3 separate regions of the Homo sapiens genome follow, and regions 2 and 3 are each linked to region 1. Evidence: promoter capture Hi-C in human tissues and cell types (Jung and others, 2019). All regions are on one chromosome and are shown on one strand. Each heading gives the region's core, a stretch centred on a gene start or on the middle of the fragment in contact. The rest is flanking DNA. Distances are from core to core; before and after follow the strand shown.

The links. The method cuts DNA at HindIII sites, captures the fragments that hold promoters and counts their contacts. A contact is called where the count stands out against the background at its distance.
Region 2: the fragment with the promoter of OR13J1 here is called in contact with the fragment with the promoter of PIGO in region 1 in 2 of the 25 tissues and cell types used here (small bowel and spleen).
Region 3: the fragment with the promoter of FAM221B here is called in contact with the fragment with the promoter of PIGO in region 1 in 1 of the 25 tissues and cell types used here (spleen).

Annotation. Positions count from the first base shown.
Region 1 is chr9:35,095,341-35,099,256 of GRCh38, reverse strand. PIGO (phosphatidylinositol glycan anchor biosynthesis class O) reads left to right here and starts at 2,666. Exons shown (of 11, transcript NM_032634.4): 1 at 2,666-3,102; 2 at 3,691-3,916. The coding sequence starts at 3,692. It overlaps PIGO-AS1 (PIGO antisense RNA 1), which reads right to left and starts at 2,953. Exons shown (of 2, transcript NR_186491.1): 1 at 2,837-2,953; 2 at 1,113-1,497. RefSeq lists an enhancer at 2,660-2,999. The HindIII fragment of the contact is 8,015 bases long and covers 941-3,916 here.
Region 2 is chr9:35,868,228-35,872,143 of GRCh38, reverse strand. OR13J1 (olfactory receptor family 13 subfamily J member 1) reads left to right here and starts at 1,743. Exons shown (of 1, transcript NM_001004487.1): 1 at 1,743-2,681. The coding sequence starts at 1,743. The coding sequence ends at 2,681. The HindIII fragment of the contact is 8,885 bases long and covers 1-3,602 here.
Region 3 is chr9:35,826,881-35,830,796 of GRCh38, reverse strand. It overlaps FAM221B (family with sequence similarity 221 member B), which reads left to right and starts at 2,065. Exons shown (of 7, transcript NM_001012446.4): 1 at 2,065-2,334. It overlaps TMEM8B (transmembrane protein 8B), which reads right to left and starts at 1,569. Exons shown (of 13, transcript NM_001042590.4): 1 at 842-1,569. The coding sequence starts at 1,349. RefSeq lists an enhancer at 477-977 and a silencer at 1,263-1,712. The HindIII fragment of the contact is 23,285 bases long and covers 1-3,916 here.

The sequences.
Region 1 (3,916 bases), core at 1,417-3,916:
TAGCTGGGCGTGGTAGCATGTGCGGGTAGTCCCAGTTGCTTGGGAGGCTGAGGCAGGAGAATTGCATGAACCTGGGAGGTGGAGGCTGCAGTGAGCCGTGATCACGCCATTGCACTCCAGCCTGGCAACAGTGAGACACTCTGTTAAAAAAAAAAAAAAAAGTGATAAATGCTGTGGTAGAGGAAAGTTCTGGCTGAGGGATCTTGGTGGGAAGAGCATATCAGCTTATGAGTAGCAGCGTTGCTGATTGCCACTGAACTCAGGCTGGAAAAGTTAGCAAGTTTTCACCAAGTCAGGTCCTGGACTAGAATAAACAAAGGCTCACTGCTTGAGAGAAGTTGGCTGAAGGGTATAGTGTTAAGGGGGATGTGACTACATGGCAAGGGCCAAGTCACAAGGAATGAGATTCTTGTTGAAGGGGTTGGACATTATCCCTAGGGTAATAGGGTTTTTTTGTTTGTTTGTTTGAGACAGCGTCTCCCTCTGTTGTCCAGGCTGGAGTGCAATGGCATGATCTCGGCTCACTGCAACCTCCGCCTCCCGGGTTCAAGCAATTCTCCTGCCTCAGCCTCCTTAGTAGCTGGGATTACAGGCATGCGCCACCATACCTGGCTAATTTTTTTGTTTTTTGTAGAGACAGGGTTTCACCATGTTGGTCAGGCTGATCTCGAACTCCAGACCTCGTGATCTGCCCGCCTGAGCCTCCCAAAGTGCTGGGATTACAGGCGTGAGCCACTGTGCCCGGCCTATGAAGGGTTTTTTTCCCTTCCCATGAAGAATTTTAAGATAAAACATCACATTGGCCAGGCACAGTGACTCATACCTGTGATCCCAGCACTTTGGGAGGCTGAGGTGGGAGGATCACTTGAGCCCAGGAGTTGACCAGCCTGGGCAACATGGTAAGACCCTATCTCTACAAAAAAGAAAAAAATAACAGTAATCACATTAATGTTTTAGTTAGAGCTGTCTTGCTGCAATGTGGAGAAGGGATAGTAGGGAGACACAGGAGGCTGGGAGGACAGTGAGAAGGCTGCCTCAGTGATCCTGGAGAAGGGATGAGGTCTGAACTGAGATAAGGGGCTATGGGGATGAAGGTGGAAGAATAACTCAACTTTTTTTAAAAATTAACATATTCCTTTATTCGTTTGGTCAGTATGTGAACCTCAAATATATGCTAGGTGCTGAGGATATCATGAAGAAAACAGAATTCCCTGACCTCAATGAGCTCACATTCTACTCGGAGGGGATAAACCATAAATACGTGTAGAATTTCAGATGCTGATGAGTTGTGCTATGGAAGAAATTAAGGAAGTGAGGGGAAATTTTTCCAGGGGGTGTGGTGGTGGGAGGTGCTGAACTAGTAAAGTAGGGGATTGCAGGAAGCCTTGCTGATGTTACAGTTGAGCTTCAATATGAAGGTGATGGAGATCCATTTCGGCATCGGGAACTGAAGCTGACAGAGGAGATGGCAAATGCAAAGGTCCTGAGGCAGAACTGCTGTGGATGGAACAGAGTTAGGGAAGCAAAGAAGTGGCAGCTAGATGAATCAGAAGGGGAAGAGGCAGATAGTGTGCAGGGCCATGTAGAGCCAATGCAAGAACTTTTACTCTGAGATGAGAAACCAGTGGACGGGTTTTGTTTCTTTTTGAGACAGAGTCTTGCTCTGTTGCCTAGGCTGGAGTGCAGTAGCACGATCTCAGCTCACTGTAGCCTCTGCCTCCTGGCTTCAAGCAATTGTCCAGTCTCAGCCTCCTCAGTAGCTGGGACTACAGGTACACATCGCCACGCCTGGCTAAATTTTGTAATTTTTAGTAGAGTTGGGGTTTCAGCATGTTGGCCAGGCTGGTCTCCAATTCCTGACTTCAACTGATTCTCCAGCCTCAGCCTCCCAAAGTGCTGGGCTTACAGGTGTGAGTCATCGTGCCTGGCATTTTTTTTTTTTTTTTTGAGAGGGAGTCTTGCTCTGTTGCCCAGGCTGGAGTGCAGTGGTGCAATCTCGGCTCACTGCAACCTCTGCCTCCTGGGTTCGAGTGATTCTCCTGCCTCAGCCTCCCAGGTATCTGGGATCACAGGCGCCCGCCACCACTCCCGGGTAACTTTTGTATTTTCAGTAGAGACGGCGTTTCGTCATATTGGCCGGGCTGGTCTTGAACTCCTGACCTTAGGTGATCCACCTGCCTTGACCTCCCAAAGTGCTGGGATTACAGGTGTGAACCACTGGGCCCAGCCTCCCCTCCTCCACTCCGAAGGATTATTTGCTTAATTATTCAGTCGTAAGATTTAGTTACAGGCTTTGAAAGGAGGAGTAATGAAATCTCAGTTGGACTCAGCTAAGCAAAAAAGGGAAAATAAGTATTATCTCCATTTTACAGATGAGGTAATGCCTAATGATGACAATATGTGCGGCCAAGCTAGGATTCAAGTCAAGTTTGACTCCAGCAGCCGTGCTCTTAGTCGTAACCATGAATGGACAGTGGTTCCCTGAACTCTTCCTCCAGCTTGGTCCCCTGTCCCCAATTTTCAATTACTAAATATCCCATCAAACTGGGGCCAGCCCCACGCTCCTGGCCAAACTTCCACCGAGGTGCCGGCAGATGGCGATGGAGCCACCGACGGGCCACTCTGTCTGGCGCACGCATCTCTGTGCTGCCAGGTCGCAGGCGCCGCCGCCGCCGCACTTCCGGGTGCCATTGCAGGTGAGCCAGGGTCTCCCGAGAACCTCACCCCCCGGTATTCCCCTCACCCTGAAGTAAGGGAGTCTCCCTCTTCCCCTCAGCTCCTAACCAAGGTGCTCAGTACCGCGGCTAGGGTGCCCAGCGGGAGGCTGGGTAGTTACCGGAGGAGGCAGAGCCGGTCGCACGCCTGGGTCCCAGCGGAGGCCCAGTCGACTCTCGACCCGGGCCCCAGCCTCCTTGCGTGGCGAAGGTCGTGCCTCAGGTCTCCTGGCGAACCTGGCCGCCCGGAAGCGGAGAGTGACTCCTCCCCTTCGTCCCCTCGGTGCCCGCCAGGCGGCGCCGTCGGCTGGGCCCGGATTCCCCTGCGGCTTCGATCCCTTTCCACTGGGTATTGAGATTGGCGAGGGGAGAGGCGCAGAAACGGCGTGTAAGAGAGCCTGACTACCAATTGGAATAAGTTTCCCTCCTGACTGTTCACATGTACAGGCAGCATTAGCATTTCCTGCCTGTACATGTGAACGTTCCTATGCTCTACCCCTCGAAGATCCTGATTCAGTAGATCTGGGGTGGGACCTCATGAAACGGCGTCTCCCTCTGTTGTCCAGACTCTAGTGCAGTGGTTCAATCTCGGCTCACTGCAACCTCCGCCTCCCCGATTCAAGCGATTCTCCTGCGTCAGCCTCCCCAGTAGCTGAGACTACAGGTGCCCGCCACCCATTTTTGTATTTTTAGTAGGGACGGGGTTTCGCCATTTTGGCCAGGCTGGTCTCGAACTCCTCACCTCAGGTGATCCGCCCGCCTCGGCCTCCCAAAGTGCTGGGATTACAGGCGTGAGCCACCATGCCCAGCCTGGAAATAGGAGGAGAGTAATATTGCGAGGGGTTGGCTGTGAAATGGTTTATCTCCAGGAAGGTTTCCGGGAGGAAGTGATTCTAGCTGGGCTTGTATTCAGGGACCAGAATATCCACTGGTTCTTTGCCCCACAGTAATGAATTTACTTCCCCACCCCTATCAGGATGCAGAAAGCCTCAGTGTTGCTCTTCCTGGCCTGGGTCTGCTTCCTCTTCTACGCTGGCATTGCCCTCTTCACCAGTGGCTTCCTGCTCACCCGTTTGGAGCTCACCAACCATAGCAGCTGCCAAGAGCCCCCAGGCCCTGGGTCCCTGCCATGGGGGAGCCAAGGGAAACCTGGGGCCTGCTGGATGGCTTCCCGATTTTCGCGGGTTGTGTTGGTGCTGATA
Region 2 (3,916 bases), core at 494-2,993, 770 kb before region 1:
GAGTGGGGGGAGGGTGAGTCTGGGTATGGGAGAGTGGGAAGGGTGGGTGAGGCTGGGTATGGAAGAGTCAGGGGAGGGGGAGGCTGGGTATGGGAGGGTGGGGGAGGACAAGGATGGGTATGGGAGAGTGGGAGGGGTGGGTGAGGCTGGGTACGGAAGAGTGGGGGGACGGTGAGGCTGGGTATGGAAGACTTGGGGGTCCTCTCTGCCTAGGAAGGGTTTGCACTCAGCAGCCTGGGAGCACACCTGTCATCAGTGCTCCCTCACATCTGGCACCACCTGACATGTAGCAGGTCCTCAGTTACTTCTAGGTTCTGGGATGAGTAAGTGAGGGTGGAATAAAAGACGGAAATGGTCTCCTGCAAGGAAGGCACTGAGAGGAACTGTGCTCCACCCAGGCCCAGGATTTGGCATCGTGTCCCATGGGATTAATGACACCGTGCCAGATACCCTGGAACACTAAGGAGAGGTGACTCATGCTCTTTTGCTGGTGAGAGGATTGTGGCAGCACCTGGGGCACTGATATCCATCTAGAATGGTAAAAGAACAAGCATTGTTTGAAACCTAATAGAAGCATACACCTGCTCTGAGCATGGTATAGGGGTCACACTGTTGGGAGGGCTGGATTCTAGCTTCACCTCACCAGAGACCTGTTGTGTGACCTCAGCATCCCCATCTATACAATGGGAGATCCAACAAGTTGGCCTCTGGTCATGTTCCATGCTAATACCCTAGGAGTTCATGAAGTCAAAGCAGCCCTCGCTCTGGCCCACAGAACATAGGGGTTTGGAGCTGGGCCAAAAGCTCCATCAGATTTTAGCTGGGAAACCCACAGGAAGGCAGATTGTGAAGGTCCAATCCACACAGGGTAGCTAATGAAACAGGCCCTGGGCAGGGGACAGGGGAACATGCCCAGCGATAGGCTTCAAGGTCAGCAGCCCTCCAACACACAGCACGGTGTATGCTTTGTTCATGGATACTAGAGTAGGCCTGAAGAGACAGGTCAGACCACTGCAGGCCGAGGACATTCCAGACAGAAGGAATAGCAAATGCGATGGCTCAGAGGCTTCCTTAAAGCCAGGAGAATCTCCACCTGCTCAGAGACCACCTAGCCCACTAGTTCCTCAAAGTGTGGTACCTACATCAGCAGCAGAAGCATCGCCCAGACGCACCGAGTCAGAAACTGGGTTTGGGGCCCAACAATCTGTTTTAACAAACTTTCCAGGTGATTCTGGTGCATGTTAAAGTTTGAGAACTGTTGATCTAGCCTACTGTTTCCCAGACTATGCTCATAGAACACTTATCTGCAGTAGGTTAATGGGTTTTCTGTAAAAGGGGATCCATGATCAAATAAGTTTGGGGTACAGATGTTCTACATTGCTTTGCAGGAGTCATAGATCACATTAGCGTAGTAAACGCTCTGAGAAGTCCTGCAGTAAAGAGCTTTATTTTTTATTAATCCAATGTTGTCTCAAATTGATTTTTCAGATTGCTTACTAATGTTCTCATTAACATTCTCTCAGGGAATGCTGATCTAAATCAATGCTCATTTTTCACATGGATAAACTGAGGCCTAGAGAGGATAAAGGGATTGCCCGACGTCACAGACAGTGAGTGTGGCAGTGCTGGAAAAGATCCTGACAGTCCACCTCGTCCCAGAAAGGGCTCTGTGAGCTTCCCCGCACCCTGTACCCTCTCTCCTTCCATCCCAGCTGTGGACCATCTCTTCAGAACTCTGCAGCATGGAGCCGCTCAACAGAACAGAGGTGTCCGAGTTCTTTCTGAAAGGATTTTCTGGCTACCCAGCCCTGGAGCATCTGCTCTTCCCTCTGTGCTCAGCCATGTACCTGGTGACCCTCCTGGGGAACACAGCCATCATGGCGGTGAGCGTGCTAGATATCCACCTGCACACGCCCGTGTACTTCTTCCTGGGCAACCTCTCTACCCTGGACATCTGCTACACGCCCACCTTTGTGCCTCTGATGCTGGTCCACCTCCTGTCATCCCGGAAGACCATCTCCTTTGCTGTCTGTGCCATCCAGATGTGTCTGAGCCTGTCCACGGGCTCCACGGAGTGCCTGCTACTGGCCATCACGGCCTATGACCGCTACCTGGCCATCTGCCAGCCACTCAGGTACCACGTGCTCATGAGCCACCGGCTCTGCGTGCTGCTGATGGGAGCTGCCTGGGTCCTCTGCCTCCTCAAGTCGGTGACTGAGATGGTCATCTCCATGAGGCTGCCCTTCTGTGGCCACCACGTGGTCAGTCACTTCACCTGCAAGATCCTGGCAGTGCTGAAGCTGGCATGCGGCAACACGTCGGTCAGCGAAGACTTCCTGCTGGCGGGCTCCATCCTGCTGCTGCCTGTACCCCTGGCATTCATCTGCCTGTCCTACTTGCTCATCCTGGCCACCATCCTGAGGGTGCCCTCGGCCGCCAGGTGCTGCAAAGCCTTCTCCACCTGCTTGGCACACCTGGCTGTAGTGCTGCTTTTCTACGGCACCATCATCTTCATGTACTTGAAGCCCAAGAGTAAGGAAGCCCACATCTCTGATGAGGTCTTCACAGTCCTCTATGCCATGGTCACGACCATGCTGAACCCCACCATCTACAGCCTGAGGAACAAGGAGGTGAAGGAGGCCGCCAGGAAGGTGTGGGGCAGGAGTCGGGCCTCCAGGTGAGGGAGGGCGGGGCTCTGTACAGACGCAGGTCTCAGGTTAGTAGCTGAGGCCATCGTATGCCAATGCCAGTGAAGACATGGCAGGGCTGGGGCTACAGGTCTGGTATCTTCATCCCAGCAAGGCAGCACCAAGTCCCGCTGATCCTGCCACAGAACAGCCCCCAAATCACCCTCTGCTCTCAGCATCACCCTGGCCTTCACACCAGCCTCCTGGCTGGTCCCAAGACTTCAGTCCTGTTCCTCCCTCCAATCTCTCCTTCATGGGGCATCTTTTTGAAATGCACATGTGATTGCATCACTCTTCTCACTGAAATCCCTAGGTGGCTCCCCACTGTTCTCAGAACAAAGTGGAAGCTTTTCAGTGGGGCATTTGAGGCCCTCACAAGCTGGCCCTGCCTGACTGGCTCCCCAGCCTTCCTCCCCTCCCACCCCATCTCCCTCCTCACAGCCACACACACCAGCCAGTTGTGGCCCCCACATGCCCTGCACCACCCAGCTCTGTGCTCTCCTTGTTTCTCCCCACGAGGCAGCACCCCCTCCCCTATCCCCAGCACACTTCTCCATATGTAAAAGGACTGACTGCCTGACCCTTCAGGCCCAGCTCAAATGCCACCTCCACCAGGAAGCCACCCCACCTTGCTCCTCTTGCTGTGCCCCTCTGTGTTTTCAGCATTACTCCAAGAGCAGGGAGTGTCAGATTCTACTCTCTCCCAAGGTCCAGCCTTGCCCAACTCTAGGCCCTGCACAAGTTTCTTAAATAGAGATATTAACATGTCAATGTAGGGGTGACAATGGCAGAGCCTAGAGTTCTTCCCAAAACTGAGCAGAGCTGAGACGGAGTCCACAGATGACGAGAATGGCCCAGCTTCCCTGGTAGGTGACAGTAGAGGCAGCAATGAGGCCTGTATTAGTCAGGGTTCTCTTAGAGGGACAGAACTAATAGGATAGAGGAGTTTATTAAGTATTAACTTACACGATCACAAGGTTCCACAATAGGCTGAGGAGCAAGGAGAACCAGTCCGAGTCCCCAGACTGAAGAACTTGGAGTCCATTGTTCAAGGGACGGAAACATCCAGCATGGGAGAAAGATGTAGGCTCGGAGGCTAGGCCCGTCTCTCCTTTTCACGTTTTTCTGCCTGCTTTATATTCACTGGAAACTGATTAGATCATGCCCACCAGATTAGGGTGGATCTGCCTTCCCCAGCCCACTGACTCAAATGTGAATCTCTTTTGGCA
Region 3 (3,916 bases), core at 816-3,315, 730 kb before region 1:
CTGACGCCTGGCAAATAAGGAACAGTTTGTGGATAAAGCACCCTTGTGGGCAGACCGGGGAGAAGGGAGGTTATGCTTTGAGCCTTTCCCCACTTGGGTCTATTTTTCTATTAAGTATACATTGCAGTGGATAAAAAAAAACACACTAGTATGAAATAGGAATTAGGAAACCTTTTTTCTAGCCCCAGCACACTGCCATTCACAAGCTCTCTGACTTTGGACAAATTGCTCCCTCCCTGAGCCTCAGTTTCCCCATCTGTAAAATAGCCTCCGAGTTTCAGCCCTGCTCTAAAAGTATCAGGAATTATTCCTAGGCAAATCAATCTTCTTTGGAACAAGAATCATTACAAGAAGAAAACTCATTATAATGGCAACTAATCCATATTCATCTATTTGCTACATATTATCTTTAAAACTCTTCTTCATGCCGTTTGAATGCATGCCCAATATCTCAAAGGTTTGGGCTATATATTCCCACACTACACTAGGGGCTTCTGGTGTGGGACTGTCTCTCCCCCATCAAACTTTGTGAGCAGGAGCAAAGCCCACAACATTTCCCTGGAAAAGCAAGAGTCAAAGTGGGGTCAGGACAGACACCAGAAAAAATCTTGGAGTCTCTGTGCTAGAAACTGTAAGCCACCTGCTGAGCCTCAAACCCAATTAATTACCACTCTTTTGACCCTGCCAATCCCTGTTGTGTAAGACCTCTCTACTCTCTATTTCTCCCACTTGCTCCCCAATGATCTAGTTCCCCAGGTCCCACCTCTCCTGAATCTCTCCAGCCCACCCCTCCCTGCCGGAACCCCATTCCTGCCTCAATCTTCCCTGCTTCTGCACTCACCAGCCCCTGGGCCAAGGACAGAGAACAGCAACAGCAGCAATAGGGCTGGCGGCAGCTGAAACCCAGACTTGAGTCTAGGCTGGGAGAGGGGCAGAGTATGAGAGATAGGGGGGACTAGAGGGAGAGACTTGGGTAAACACAGAGATGAGGGCAAAGGCTGAGATAATGGGTTGGGCTGGGCTGGACACTGGGGCTTGAACAAGGGCAGGGAGTGGGATGGAAGGAAGGGCTGTGATGGGGACTGCAGCAAGGGACGGGGTTGAGCCAGGGCCTTAAGCAAACACTGGGAATGGGGCTGGGACAGGGCCTGGGCTGGGATTTGTGACAGGGGGTGGAACGAGGGCCGAGGCCGGGATGGGGGCCAGGCCAGGGGCAGAGACTGGAAGGGGGTCCTGGATGGGGACCCAGGCAGGGGCTGGGGCCGATGTGGGAAGCGGGGCGAGGGCGGGGCTGGGGGCCAAGGCGGGGATTGGGATAGGACGAGGGGCCGGGACAAGGGCTGGGCCATGGCCCGGGGCGGGGGCGGGGCCGGACAGGCCAGCGCGGGGCGCTCGCAGAGCTGGCCCGCGGCTCCGCTCCCCACCCCCGGGGGGTGGCCTCCGGTGTCCTCGCGGGCCCGGGGCGGGGGCCGGGGACCTGGGTAGGAGTTCAGGCCTGGGCGACTCCGGGCTGCGCTGAACCGGCGATAACCAGGCCCCGCGGCGGCGGCCTCGACTTGACGTCGGCGTGACGCCCCGCCCCCCGGCCGGCTCGATTGGTCCCTGTCAGTAAAGCCCGCCCCCGCCCTACTCTATTGGTCCCCAACTTAGTCCTGCTGGGCTTCGAGGACACACAGACTCCGCCCCCGCCTCAGCTACCCGAGACCCTGCCTTTCTCACCCCAAGCACAGAGCCCGAGGTCCCCTCAGATCCTCACAGCCCCCAACGACCGCCCCACAGATGTCTCAAAGGAACCCTATCCTCACAATCCCAGACTCCCCCGGACGTACGCACAGATCTCCGCAGATCCTACCCAAACACTCGCTCACAGAGATCCCGCAACACACACCCCACTTTTCAGAAGTAAACCCTCTGGGCTCGCCCCCTCGAGGCCCAATGCAAGCCCCTCAGGAGACCTTACCCACCGGGGAGGTGACCAGACCGCCGTTGCCACGGAGACTACTAGGCGTTCCGGTTGCCCTGGTGACCGGCGCCTACTCTCCTGGCCCGGGTTCCGGAGGCTTCAGTCAAGACCCTCCCTCATTGGCCCTAGACCCCTTGTCCCTACCCACTTCCCCAGGTCATGCCAGAGCTCCTTTGCGAAGTTCTGCAGATATCCAAGTCCCCTTCCCAGATAGCAGACTTTCAGGCAAGGCATTTCAACACTCAGCACCTGCAGCTGAGGCACATCCACAACCAAGAGCCTTTCCTCCCTGAGGATCAACACCTCCCCCTGCCATCCTAAGTCAAGGTCTTGACCTAAGGACTTGTAACAACCAAGCCAAAGCCCAGAGGGTAGGTGGTTTCTCCAACGGCCCTTGCCCTCTTCCCTCAAAGACATCTGTCTTTCTCCCACCCCTCAGTCCCTTCACATTGTTGTAGTAGTAGTAGTAGTAGTAGTAGTAGTAGTAGTAGTAGTAGTAGTTGTTGTTGTTGTTGTTGTTGTTGTTGTTGTTGTTGTTGTTTGAGACAGAGTCTCGCTCTGTCCCCCAGGCTGGAGTGCAGTGGTGCGATCTGGGCTCACTGCAACCTCCGCCTCCCAGGTTCAAGTGATTTGCTTGCTTCAGCCTCCCCAGTAGCTGGGACTACAGGCGCCTGCCACCATGCCCAGCTAATTTTTGTATTTTTAGTAGAGACTGGGTTTCACCATGTTGGCCAGGCTGGTCTCGAACTCCTGACCTCAAGTGATCCACCCGCCTTGGCCTCCCAAATTCTGGGATTACTGGCATGAGCCACCATGCCTGGCCCACATTCTGTACTTTTCATCCTTACTCTCCTCCTCCACCCAATTTCCTCCTCCCCTTCTCTTTCCCCTTCCTCACCTCCCATCTTCTGGTTCTCCACTCTTAGGCCCCTTTTCTCTCTAGCTGACTCTGGTCATCTTCCTCCCTGTAATCCTACCTCTGCCCCTAATTCCCTTCCCAAACATCCCCTTCAAAAAGGCTCTGATGCATTTAAGGAGTGATATATCTAGCGTCTCTGGAACATGGGGGTAAAGTAGGGAGCACGGAAAGTTAAGGCAGGAATCCTCAGGCTGTGTTGAAAATGATGACAGGCCTTGAATGCCAGGGCCAAGAAATTTGGACTTAATCCTTTAGACTGAGTCATGGAATGTTTTTAAGCCACAAAGTGCCAGTTGTTGGGCTTGCACTTTAGAAAGATCCTGATTGGGTCAGGAAGGAGGACTACATCCTTGCAGGATAAATTAGGTATATCCCCCTCCCCACCGTATCCTAGACTCACCCCAGAACAACATCAATTTATTTGTATTGCCATTGTTGGTTAATCGGTCTCTCTCCTAGACTCAACTCAATCTAGAGCTTAGCACAGCGGGTCAGTAAAAGCATCAGATTAGGCTCATTGTAAAAGTATAAGTTACATAAATCCATGAAAGAATGGGTGAATGGATTAAAATGCTGTGGATGGAAGTAGAGGGGCAAAGTTATTACACAAAGGCTGAAGATGATGAGAACTTGAATAAAATTGGAAGGGAGAGGAGAGAATGCATTTGGGGAATATTTAGAAGATAGGAAATAGAGTTATTGGTGCCTATTTGAAGATGGAGTCTAAGGGAAAAGGAAAAGACTAGGATAATTCCCAAAGTTCAGTTTTGCTGTCTGTGGAAACACTCAGTTAGAAATGACCAGCAGGGGCCAAGCACGGTGGCTCACTCCTGTAATCTCAGCACTTTGGGAGGCCAAGCAGGGCAGATCACCTGAGGTCAGGAGTTCAAGACCAGCCTGACCAACATGGTGAAACCCCGTCTCTACTAAAAATATAAAACTTAGCCGGGCATGGTGGCACACGCCTGTAATTCCAGCTACTTGGGAGGCTGAGGCAGGAGAATCACTTGAACCCGGGAGGCGGAGGTTGCAGT